Linked DNA regions of Homo sapiens: all the other regions are linked to region 1. Evidence: promoter capture Hi-C in human tissues and cell types (Jung and others, 2019). All regions are on one chromosome and are shown on one strand. Each heading gives the region's core, a stretch centred on a gene start or on the middle of the fragment in contact. The rest is flanking DNA. Distances are from core to core; before and after follow the strand shown. Region 1 holds the start of BEND4 (BEN domain containing 4). Region 2 overlaps SLC30A9 (solute carrier family 30 member 9). Region 3 has its middle 82 kb from the start of BEND4.

The links. Contacts are between HindIII fragments. The study calls those that stand out against the background at their distance.
Region 2: a contact is called between a fragment that was not itself captured here and the fragment with the promoter of BEND4 in region 1, in 2 of the 25 tissues and cell types used here (lymphoblastoid cells and mesendoderm cells).
Region 3: a fragment that was not itself captured here is called in contact with the fragment with the promoter of BEND4 in region 1 in 2 of the 25 tissues and cell types used here (heart left ventricle and mesendoderm cells).

What each region holds. Positions count from the first base shown.
Region 1 is chr4:42,151,199-42,154,844 of GRCh38, reverse strand. BEND4 (BEN domain containing 4) reads left to right here and starts at 2,190. Exons shown (of 6, transcript NM_207406.4): 1 at 2,190-2,313; 2 at 2,469-3,188. The coding sequence starts at 2,702. RefSeq lists silencers at 2,498-2,817, 3,018-3,107 and an enhancer at 2,873-3,646. The HindIII fragment of the contact is 6,033 bases long and covers 1-3,646 here.
Region 2 is chr4:42,071,122-42,074,764 of GRCh38, reverse strand. All of the region lies in intron 15 of SLC30A9 (solute carrier family 30 member 9), which reads right to left. Among named protein-coding and RNA genes, the nearest start is that of BEND4, 80 kb to the left of the region's middle. The HindIII fragment of the contact is 7,764 bases long and covers 1-3,643 here.
Region 3 is chr4:42,232,503-42,236,022 of GRCh38, reverse strand. No RefSeq gene overlaps it. Among named protein-coding and RNA genes, the nearest start is that of BEND4, 82 kb to the right of the region's middle. The HindIII fragment of the contact is 5,397 bases long and covers 1-3,520 here.

The sequences.
Region 1 (3,646 bases), core at 941-3,440:
ACATCTATGTACAATACTCAGTTAAATACAATCTCAGGCAGGGGTTAGTGGTCAGCTATAATTTTAAAATTGCCTTCAACTCCACACTTAGAGTAAATGCTCATTTTATTTTTAAAAGGGTGATTCTTAAGTACTTCACTTTTCTATGAACTCAGGACGCAGACATAGGTGACTGCCCACATGAAAATCTGAAAGCTGATCATTTAAAACTTTTAAATATTTTTCCTCTGGGCACCTTCCCCTCCCCCTTCCCCCCACTTTTAAAAGCTAAATGACTAATTTGATTATTTCAGTTTTATAGAAATAATCACTTTTTGATGTAAAGGACAGCATGTCCTTTTCAATAGAAAATATACAATAGAAGTATTGTTCCCAGTCTCTTAAGGTGTTTAAGTGGTGAGGAGGATATACATTTAAAACTACATAGAAGAGGAAGCCCCCAGGTACAGGAAATTACTTCTTCAGAAGAACTAAAAGATTTCTCTCCTCTTAACTCCCCACACTGCCACCACCCCAATTTCTTTTCAAAAGCCAGGACTTATTGGCAAATTATCTGGGAGTAAAGTGGGAGGAAAACATTTCAATGCAAAATTCAGAACTGCTTTATAGAAAGGAAAGTGTGGGGAGGTTTGTTATCATTTATTTCCTCCAGTATATCATTCAATTTCAGCTGTCTCACGTCTCAGAAGTAGCTCCCCCATTTCTCACTTACGTGCCTAAGAAACATCTCCCTGGCATCTCATTCTCTTTCTCTTTCACCAGCATTTCATTATTTCTTAACTGTCCCTCTCATGCTTGTCTCCTTTTCCTAGTGATCCACGTGTCCTCATTTAGCAGTTTTCAGAAGCCAGGGAGAAACATTGCAAATAATGTTAAATATGATTAATATCTTGAATTCCTTGAAATATGACATGCATGAGTTACAATGAAACCTCTTTTATTTCCCCATGAAATGCTTTTGCATAATGAGAAAGAAAATGTCCTCTATGCCCTAATCAGCCCTGACAGTTCCTGGACTCCCAAATACTTATATTTATGGCATTATTTATTTCATCTCTAATAAATGGATTGGGGGGGGGACACAGCACCATCTGAGGAAGCTGCAGGAGAGAGGGAGACAATCTAGGGGGGAATAATACAGAAGCTGAACCAGCAAGGCAGAGAGAAAAAGCTTCCAAAGGGAAGGAGACCAGGGAAAGAGAGGCCAAAAGATGTGAACCCCCAGAAGAAAATGGGTCACCTTCCTAAGAATAAAAGGAAGGCTCTGAAAAGGAAACAAACTTCAGAGTGCAGAGATGAGGGTCCTACATCAAGGAGCATCCAGAACTCTGACCTGGAGAACGAAAAAGGAAGGCTGAAAAGCAAACCTGGGGCAGGGTATGCTGGTTGGCCTAGAAGAGGGGTGATTTGGGATAGGGAGCAATGGACCCTCTGCCCCAAAAAGTGGCTGGGAGAGACCAGGACATCTGCATCCCATGGAGGATCTTCCTCCCAACGACTGAGATCTCTCATTCAAACGGCTACTGAAATTGGGCACCCTCCAGACCCTCGCCGGATGGCGCCAGTTGCAGTGAGTAAAACAATGCAAGGAGTGAGTTCTCGTGTTTCCCTGGGCTTGCAAGTACATATACATATATTAAAAATGACACTGTTGAAAGTAATCATCACCTCAAAGGGAGGTATCAGGACATTTCCCCACTCAATTGCACAGAGGCTACTGGCTATGGGAAGTGAGGAGTTGACTTCAAATAACCTGGATGCGTCAGTGCAACACAGCCGCACACTCCCGAGTGTCTGACTTTGGGCAATTCCCTTCAACCTCTCAGAGCCTCGGTTTTCTCATCTTTATAATGGGGGGGAAATCATGGTGTCATGCACGTTCTCGGGGCCCCTACGGGAAACAAATGAAAACGTGAAAAAGTTCTACGCCTTGCGAGCTTTTATGTTCCGCATGAGCTCAGAGGCCGCGATGCTCGGGGAAAGCAGGACCCCAAAGCCCCGTAAACACCGCGCGACCACCCGGGCCAAGATCTTCAAGAGGTTCTTTTCAGAAGGATCGGAGAGCAATTCCCGATTGGTAGAAGAACTTGCTGTAATACACACGTACTCTGACGACCCCGCCCCAACGACTAGCCCCTCCTCTGTGCAACCCCGAGAGTTTGGGGTCATGCAGGGGGCGCCACGAGCTCGTTTCGGAAGCCGGACCCCGCCCGCAGCCGCAGAAGCCTCGAGTCCACATCTGGGTCTCTAAAGTCTCGCCGTAGCCAGATCCCGGATCCCCACCTTCTTCACCAGTTCCCGGGCGTCCTCCAGGTCCTCGCTTTCCCCCTTCCCCCGCTCCCCGTCGGAGGCGCGGAGCCGCCAGGCAGACCCCGCGGGCGGCTGCGGCGCCAGGCCCCGCCCCGCCCCCATTATCATTAGCAGATATTACCCTAAACACTTGCTCTTTACCTCCTTTCTCCCTCCAGGCATTGGCGAGGCAGCCTGTCAATCAGGAGCTCGGGCGGCAGCCCCCCGCGCGGGGGCTCGGCGATGCCAGCCTCAGCGACAGGCGGCGGCGGCGGCGGCCACGGCACAGACACACACCCTCCCACACGCGCGCACCAGGGCAGACCCGGCGGGCAGGCGGCGGAGGCACCCTCGGAGCCCGGCGCCCGGCGGGGAGGGGACGTGCTCCGAGGGACCGGCCCCGAGGCGCCGGATGGAGGAAGAGATGCAGCCGGCAGAGGAGGGGCCCAGCGTCCCCAAAATCTACAAGCAGCGCAGCCCCTACAGCGTCCTCAAGACGTTCCCCAGCAAGAGACCGGCGCTGGCCAAGCGCTACGAGCGACCCACCCTGGTGGAGCTGCCGCACGTGCGGGCGCCCCCGCCGCCCCCGCCGCCCTTCGCGCCGCACGCCGCCGTCTCCATCAGCAGCAGCGAGCCGCCGCCGCAGCAGTTCCAGGCGCAGAGCTCCTACCCCCCCGGGCCCGGCCGGGCCGCCGCCGCCGCTTCGTCGTCGTCGCCGTCCTGCACGCCCGCCACATCCCAGGGCCACTTGAGGACTCCGGCGCAGCCGCCGCCCGCGTCCCCCGCCGCCTCCTCGTCGTCTTCGTTCGCCGCTGTCGTCAGGTATGGCCCAGGCGCGGCGGCGGCCGCCGGCACCGGCGGCACGGGTAGCGACAGCGCCAGCCTGGAGCTCAGCGCAGGTACCAACTCTCCGCACAACTTTCCTTCCCGCCACGGCCGGGGGCAGCGGGAGGGGACCCAGGAAGGAGAAGCGGGGGGCCGCCGACACTTACCCGTGCTGGGCCGTGTCGGGATGTCGGGGCGCACCTGGGGCCTCCCCGCGCACCCGGAAACTTCGAGAGGATTCTCCAGCGCCGCCGCGCCTGGGCTTCCGACGGCGCGCGCCTAACAGGTGGCTCCGCGGCTTGGATCCCGCGCCGGGAAGCACGGCTGTGGCAGTCGGCGACCAGGATCGCTCGGGCGTGGTCCGGAGTGGGGCCAGACGCCCCCCCGGGGGATAGCGGCGGCCGCTCGGGAAGAAGCTGGAGCTTCTCGGGCCGCCCCGCTGGGACGCCCTCGTACTACTTCACTTTTTCCGTCTGCTTTTTCCCTTTCTCCTTCTTCCTCCATTTGTTTCTTCTTCTCTCCACTTCTCCTT
Region 2 (3,643 bases), core at 721-3,220, 80 kb after region 1:
ATATATAAAATGTTTAATACAGTAAGAACTATAAGGCAGGCATTTAATGGATGGCTTTCATAAGTGGATAGGGTGACATCTTTATTTTATACATGATAAAACCATCCTAGAGTGGCATAAGTGACTTGCTCAAGGTAATTTAGCTAGTAAACAGCAGATTAGGACTCCCCAGCCCAGCTCTTCAGAAATGCAAGCCCAGTGGTATTTGCATCATACCCTTTTGCCTCCCAGACAGGAAAGCAGATACTCAAGCATAACTACTTTTCACCCCTCCTGCTCTAACCCTCAGTAAACAATCTTCCCTAGAAACTGCTGAGAAATTCTCTTCTTTCTACAGTGATCACTGTAAGATCTTTTCTGTACAGCACATATAAGAAATAACAAAACACTCTGAATTCTGAGGACATGGAGATTTACTAGAAAAACAAGCCTACGTAAGACTCCAAGTATTCTTACAACATTAGACCCTAATTTCTGAGGGATCCTGAGCAGGTTACTAAACACTGAGTCCAAAATTTTTTATCCATATAAGGAAGCTATATTTTAATCAACCATCAAGGATGAAATAAGAATTAATGTTTTAATATTTATAGTTACATGTGCTCAAGTTAAAACAAAACTTTTTCAGATTGGCAAAAGGCTATATCATTTATTCTTTTTTTTTTCTCTCCTGGTAACTCACAGAACATATTTATTCATTTTCAAAAATCATTTCTACTTTAGTCTTCACAGAGTATAAACACATTTCATTATTTGGCTGGTATGTGAGTAGCAACTAATAAATATATTTAGATATACTTTTTCCTTATGTTCTTACATATAACTAACTACAGACAGAAAACTGTTTGGAGGGCTCCCATATGATCAATCCCTGCCACCTATACGCAAGCCCTTGTGTGATCTCCTCTCACTGAATGTGGGCTATAACTACCAAATATGGCAAAGTGATGAGATGTCATTTCCAAGACCAGGTGACTAACCTGTGACTTTTGTCTTGTTCACACTCGCTCTCTATTGCCTTATCAATTTGCACGCTTTGATTAAGCAAGCTGCCATGTTGAAGAGGCCCATTTGGCAAGGAGCTAAATCTTGCGAACAATCATGTGAGTAAGGTTAGAAGCAGCCCCTTCCCCAGGAGATGACTATAATCCCAGTCAACACCTTGATTACAGTCTATGAGAAACCCTGAAGTCGAAGACCCAGATAAGCTGTGCCCTGATTCCTGACTCACAGAAACTGTAAGATGGTAATATGTTGTTTAAACCACTAAGTTTTGGGCCAATTTGTCACACAGCAGTAGGTAACTAATATACTGTTTAAAAAAATTGTATGAATTTTCTGGATTACTAACGTATTTTTTCCAATAATTGAATCCACAGATATTCACTCTTCCACAAAATTTCGAATTTGCCAGTCTTTCAGTTTATAGCTCTTTTTTAGACATTACTTATTAAACAATATATACAAAATTATAAACATGTATGTAGCAACAACAGAGCACCAAAATATATGATGCCAAAACCAAGAAGAAATGAAGGGAGGAAGAGCTAATACAACAACAATAACTAGAGACTTCGATACTTTCAGTAACGGATACAGAGGCCGGGCACGGTGCTCACACCTAGCACTTTGGGAGACCGAGGCGGGTGGATCACCTGAGGTCAGGAGTTTGAGACCAGCCTGGCCAACATGGCCAGTGATGAAACCTCGTCTCTCAGGAGTTTGAGACCAGCCTGGCCAACATGGCCAGTGGTGAAACCTCGTCTCTACTAAAAATACAAAAATTAGCTGGTCATGGTGGTGAGCACCTGTAATCCCAGCTACTTGGGAGGGTAAGGCAGGAGAATCACTTGAATCTGGGAGGCGGAGGTTCCAGTGAGCCAAGATCGTGCCACTGCACTCCAGCCTGGGCAACAAGAACAAAACTCCATCTAAAAAAAAAAAAAAAAAAAGGATAGAACAATAGAGCAAGAAGATAATTAGGGAAATTGAAGTCACTATAAACCAATTAAACCTAACAAACATCTACAGAACACTCTACAACAACAGCAGAATATACATTCTTCTCAAGTGCACATGAATATTATCCAAGACTATATGTAAGGCCATAAAACAAACCTTGGTAAATTTAAAAGGACAGAACTAATATAAAACATATTCTTTGACCACAATAGAACAAAATAATAAATCAATAATGGAAAGAAATCTGTGCAACTCACAAATACGTAAAAATTAAGTGACATACTCCCCTAAATAACTGAAAAGAATAAAAAAAGAAATTAGAAAATACTATTAGATAATGAAAATGGCACAATATATGGAAATGTGTGGAATGCAGAGAAAGCAATACTTAAAGGAAAATTTGTAGCTGTAATTGTCTATTTTAAAAAAGAAGAAACATCAAATTAAAAGCTTAACCTTAAGACAGTGGAAAAAGAGCAAACTAAACTGAAAGCACGCAGAAGGAAAAAAATAATAAAGATTAAAGGAGAAAGTCATGAAAAAGAAAATAGAAAAACAACAGAGAAAGTCAATTAAACCAAAAGCTGGTTCTTTAGAAAGATCAAGAAAATGAACAAACCTTTAGCTACACTGACCAAGAAAAGGAGAGATTCAAATTACAGAAATGAAAGATGAGACATTTGTACCAACACTAAAGAAATAAAATGGATTACAAAGGAATATTATAAATAGCTGTATACCAACAAATTAGGTAAATTAGAAGTAAAAGACAAATTCCTAGAATACAAGCTACTTAAACTAAGTCAAGAAGAAACAGACAATCTGAACAGATCCATAACAAGAGATATAATTACTAATCAAAAAACTACCCACACAGCAAAGCTCATATCCAGATACTTGAATTCTACCATTTAAAGAAGCTAACACCAATTATTCACAAACTCTTCCAAAAAAATAGGAGAGAACATTTCCCAACTCATTCTCTGAAGCCAGTATTATCTTAATACCAAAACCAGACAAAAACATCACAAAGAAAGGATATTAATTTGGATTATCTCACATTATGTTAATAACTCTAATACTGACTTTCATAATGCTCAACTTCTAATCTTTTTTTTTTTTTTTTTGAGACAGGGTTTTGCTATGCTGCCCAGAATATAGTACAGTGAGTGGCTATTCACAGACATGATCATTGCACACTAGCCTCAAACTCGTGGCCTCAAGTGATCCTCCTGCCTCAGCTTCCCAAGTAGCTGGAACTATAGGCATGTGCCACTGTGCCCATCTCTCATTTTCTAATCTTGTTCCAATAAGATAGTTACTTTTCAAGATTAAACATATAGGGCATAGAATATAAATCTAGTAATCATTAATATATTTTACTAATTCAGATATACGGGTCATTTTAAAAAGATTTAACTTAAAGATTTCAAGTACAATACACAAAAAAATCTTATTTTAAAGTTTGAAAAAATATAGAGCGAGTTAGTAGAAAACTGGGTTTTTAAAGGTTTGTTCTTTTATTTCATTATAAAACCACAATGCTGCTAGAATTTCACTGAAAAGCACTATTAGAATTCTGTATCTCTTCTGCTGATTATCTCCTAAGTCTCCAGTTCTTTAGTTTTACATAATTTAAAAGATAAAGATTATAAGAAAAATACTTAAAATAAGCTAAAAC
Region 3 (3,520 bases), core at 808-3,307, 81 kb before region 1:
AGTGTTTCTGACTCCTTTCTCTCTCACACCCTCTTAAATGTGGTGGCCATTCAGCAACTGGATCTGGCCTCTCCATCTAAGAGCACTTCTGCTCCCTTTTAGACCTTTCAACATTTAATACCCTCTCAGTGTCACTATCAACAGAGCTATGAGTGAGCTCAACCTTTCCCTAGAAGTGGTGATTTAATGTGTGAATTATATGGTTATTAGAATGGGTGTCAGGGAAACAGTGTAATATATGTAATGTGGGGGCTGATGGGGCTGGAGAAGCTGAATCCATCTGGATGATTTCTGGCACTTCTTTTAATGCTATGTCAATTATTCTTATGACCAATCACTCAAAGCTGTCTATTACCTTCTAATAATAATAATAATATTTTTCACTTAATGTTGCACCTTTCACCAGAGTATTTCAAAGAGCTTTGCAAACATTCATTAACATTTTATGAAGTGGGCAGGTAATATATAAATACCAAGTCACATGTCCCTGAATAGCAGCCGTTAATAGTTCCCTTGACACCACATTCAGGTTAGGGCAGAAACTAAAAGAGACCGTGTAAATGAGAAGTCACGCGCCATCATTACCGGCATTTACTGGGTGTCCACAGGGGCCTGCCAGAGATGCAAATATAAGTCTTATTTTCTTGTCTTTCAGTGTGGTGGGAAAGGTGGGCTGTCCTTCCTCTTACTACCTCTCATACACACGAACCCCTCTTCCGGAGACACAATGTAGACAATCCAGAATACTAGATTCTTTCAGCCTCAAGCTCTCAGATCCCATGCTAAGAGGAAGCTATCTTCACAGGGGGATAATTCTGGTTGTCCTATCCATGATCCTGACACAGGAATCGTAAGTTCTTCCACCCTATCCTCAGAACAAAATGGAATGGCTGACAGCGCACAGCAAGGGCTGGGAAGGACATGCTGTCATACTCTGGGTAAGGGGAGCTTGAACATTGAGTGCCAATGAGATTGAGTGTGAGCAGTGACCTAAGAGGCAACCACAAGGGGTCCCTAAGAGCCAAGGTTACAAGTGCCCCAGTTGAGTAGCTGGTGGGGACAGGCAGAGAAGAGGAGTCACCCTTGAACTCCTATTCTCTCTCTTTTTTTTTTTTTTTTTTTTTTGAGACATAGTCTCACTCTGTCGCCTAGGCTGGAGTACAGTGGCATGATCATGGGTCACTGCAACCTCCGCCTCCTGGGTTCAAGCTATTCTTGTGCCTCAGCCTCCCAAGTAGCTGGGATTACAGGTGTGCACCACCAGGCCTGGCTGATTTTTTTTGTACTTTTAGTAGAGACAGGGTTTCTCCATGTTGGCCAGGCTGGTCTCAAACTCCTGACCTCACATGATCCGCCTGCCTCGGCCTCCCAAAGTGCTGTAATTACAGGTGTGAGCCACTGCGCCAGGCCTGAACTCCTATTCTCTATGTAATTTGTCTATATTGGAAGATATAATAGAATTAGAATGAGAACCAACAGCACATTTTGTTCATTCCTCTTGACTTTCTCTGGGAATGTAAGCGTGTATTTACCCACATACTGGTATTAGTCAAGATATGCTAAATTAGGCTGGGCATCATCATCAAATAATCTCGAGGTGTTGACACCACAATCGTTTACTTGTTGTTCACACTAAATCCATTTCAGCCTCATATCAGACTCCCTACTAAGAGGAAGCCATCTTCATGGGGAAGAGGTGAAATTCTGGTTGCCTCTAAATGATCCTGACACGGGAATTGTAAGTACCTCAACCCCAGCTTCAGAACAGGCTCAGGTTGTTCTTGGGGACACTCGTCCTCCATGTGGTGGCTCACCATTCCAGGCTTCAATCTCGGGCGTCTCCATCCCTGCATGATCCTTCCTGGTTCACCATGGTGGGGAAAATAAGATGGAAGGTAACATACCAGCTCTTAAATGCTTTCCCCAGAGGTGACACACGTCATTTTTATTCCCAGCCTGTTGGCTAGAACGAGTCACGTCGTGCCATCCAACTAGTGGAGGGGCAGGAAATCACAGTCCTCTGTATGTTTTAGGAGGGGAGAACTGGAAACATTAGCAATGTCTGCTGCAACTATTAAGTGCTGGCTTAGTTTGGGACCAGAGGAATCTTCTTCTTTTTTCTTTTTGGAGACAGACTCTCGCTCTGTTGCCCAGGCTGGAGTGCAGCAGTGTGATTTCCGCTCACTGCAACCTCCACCTCCTGGGTTCAAGAGATTTTCCTGCCTCCGCCTCCTGAGTAGCTGGGATTACAGGGGTGCGCCACCATATCCAGCTAATTTTTGTATTTTTAGTAGAGATGGGGTTTCACCATGTTGGCCAGGCTGGTCTCGAAATCCTGACCTCAGGTGATCCACCCGCCTGGGCCTACCAAAGTCCTGGGATTACAGGCGTGAGCCACCGTGCCCAGCCGGAATCTTCTTTAGACTTCAAAGGCAATGTGGTAGAGCATAGAACAAGAGTGTCATGACAAGTGAGTTGGCTTCCCTTGCCTTGTGCTCTGTGGACACTGTCAGACTGTAGATAAATGCATCCTCAACATTAGATATCATTCAGATACGTCTAACGGTGCCATTGTGTTTCTTTCTGCACAGACCTAAGCTTTCTCCCAGTAGGTTTTCCTCTCATGCTTTCTTTCTCCTTTTCATCCATTAATTTAGAAAGGTCTTGGGTCAGCATATTCCTCTCCTACCCCACCCCCAGTTTCCTTTACACAAAGGGTGTTTTCTGACTGCAAAAACATCATGCAATGGGGAGAATCCTGTGAGCCAATATTTCTGTGTTCACTAAGATAGCCGGGCGCGGTGGCTCACGCCTGTAATCCCAGCACTTTGGGAGGCTGAGGCGGGCGGATCATGAGGTCAGGAGATCGAGACCATCCTGGCTAACACGGTGAAACCCTGTCTCTAATAAAAATACAAAAAATTAGCTGGGCGTGGTGGCAGGCGCCTATAGTCCCAGCTACTCGGGAGGCTGAGGGAGGAGAATGGCGTGAACCCGGGAGGCGGAGCTTGCAGTGAGCCGAGATCGCGCCACCGCACTCCATCCTGGGAGACAGAGTGAGACTGTCTCAAAAAAAAAAAGGAATGTTCTCTCCTGTCTCCTTTTTGAAATTTAAGAAATGATGATCATTCCGGTGATTTATGCAATATTCACTCTTGATTACCCACCAGTGCATTATCCATATTGTTTCCTAAACATTGTTGACATAATTGGGTTAGGAAGATATTTTTCACCCTAATTCACTATCCCTTCTTTAAAAGCAGAAAATTTTCTTAAGATTTTTCTTAAACCCAAAACAGATTTCATGTTCTTCATATTAGAAAGAGTATGAAGCCAAAAGGTACCGGCTCCCTTCGCTACTCACAGCCAGAAGTCTCTCCCTTCCTCCCCGACCTTCTGGGCTCAGTGGCCCCATCAGTCCTTCATTTTCTTTTGGAAGCTGGTTCAGGGAATAGTCTACTGTAGCAGAGGAAAGTCAAGGCAAAGGGGAAGGAAAGGAAAATTCCTCCATGTCACAATC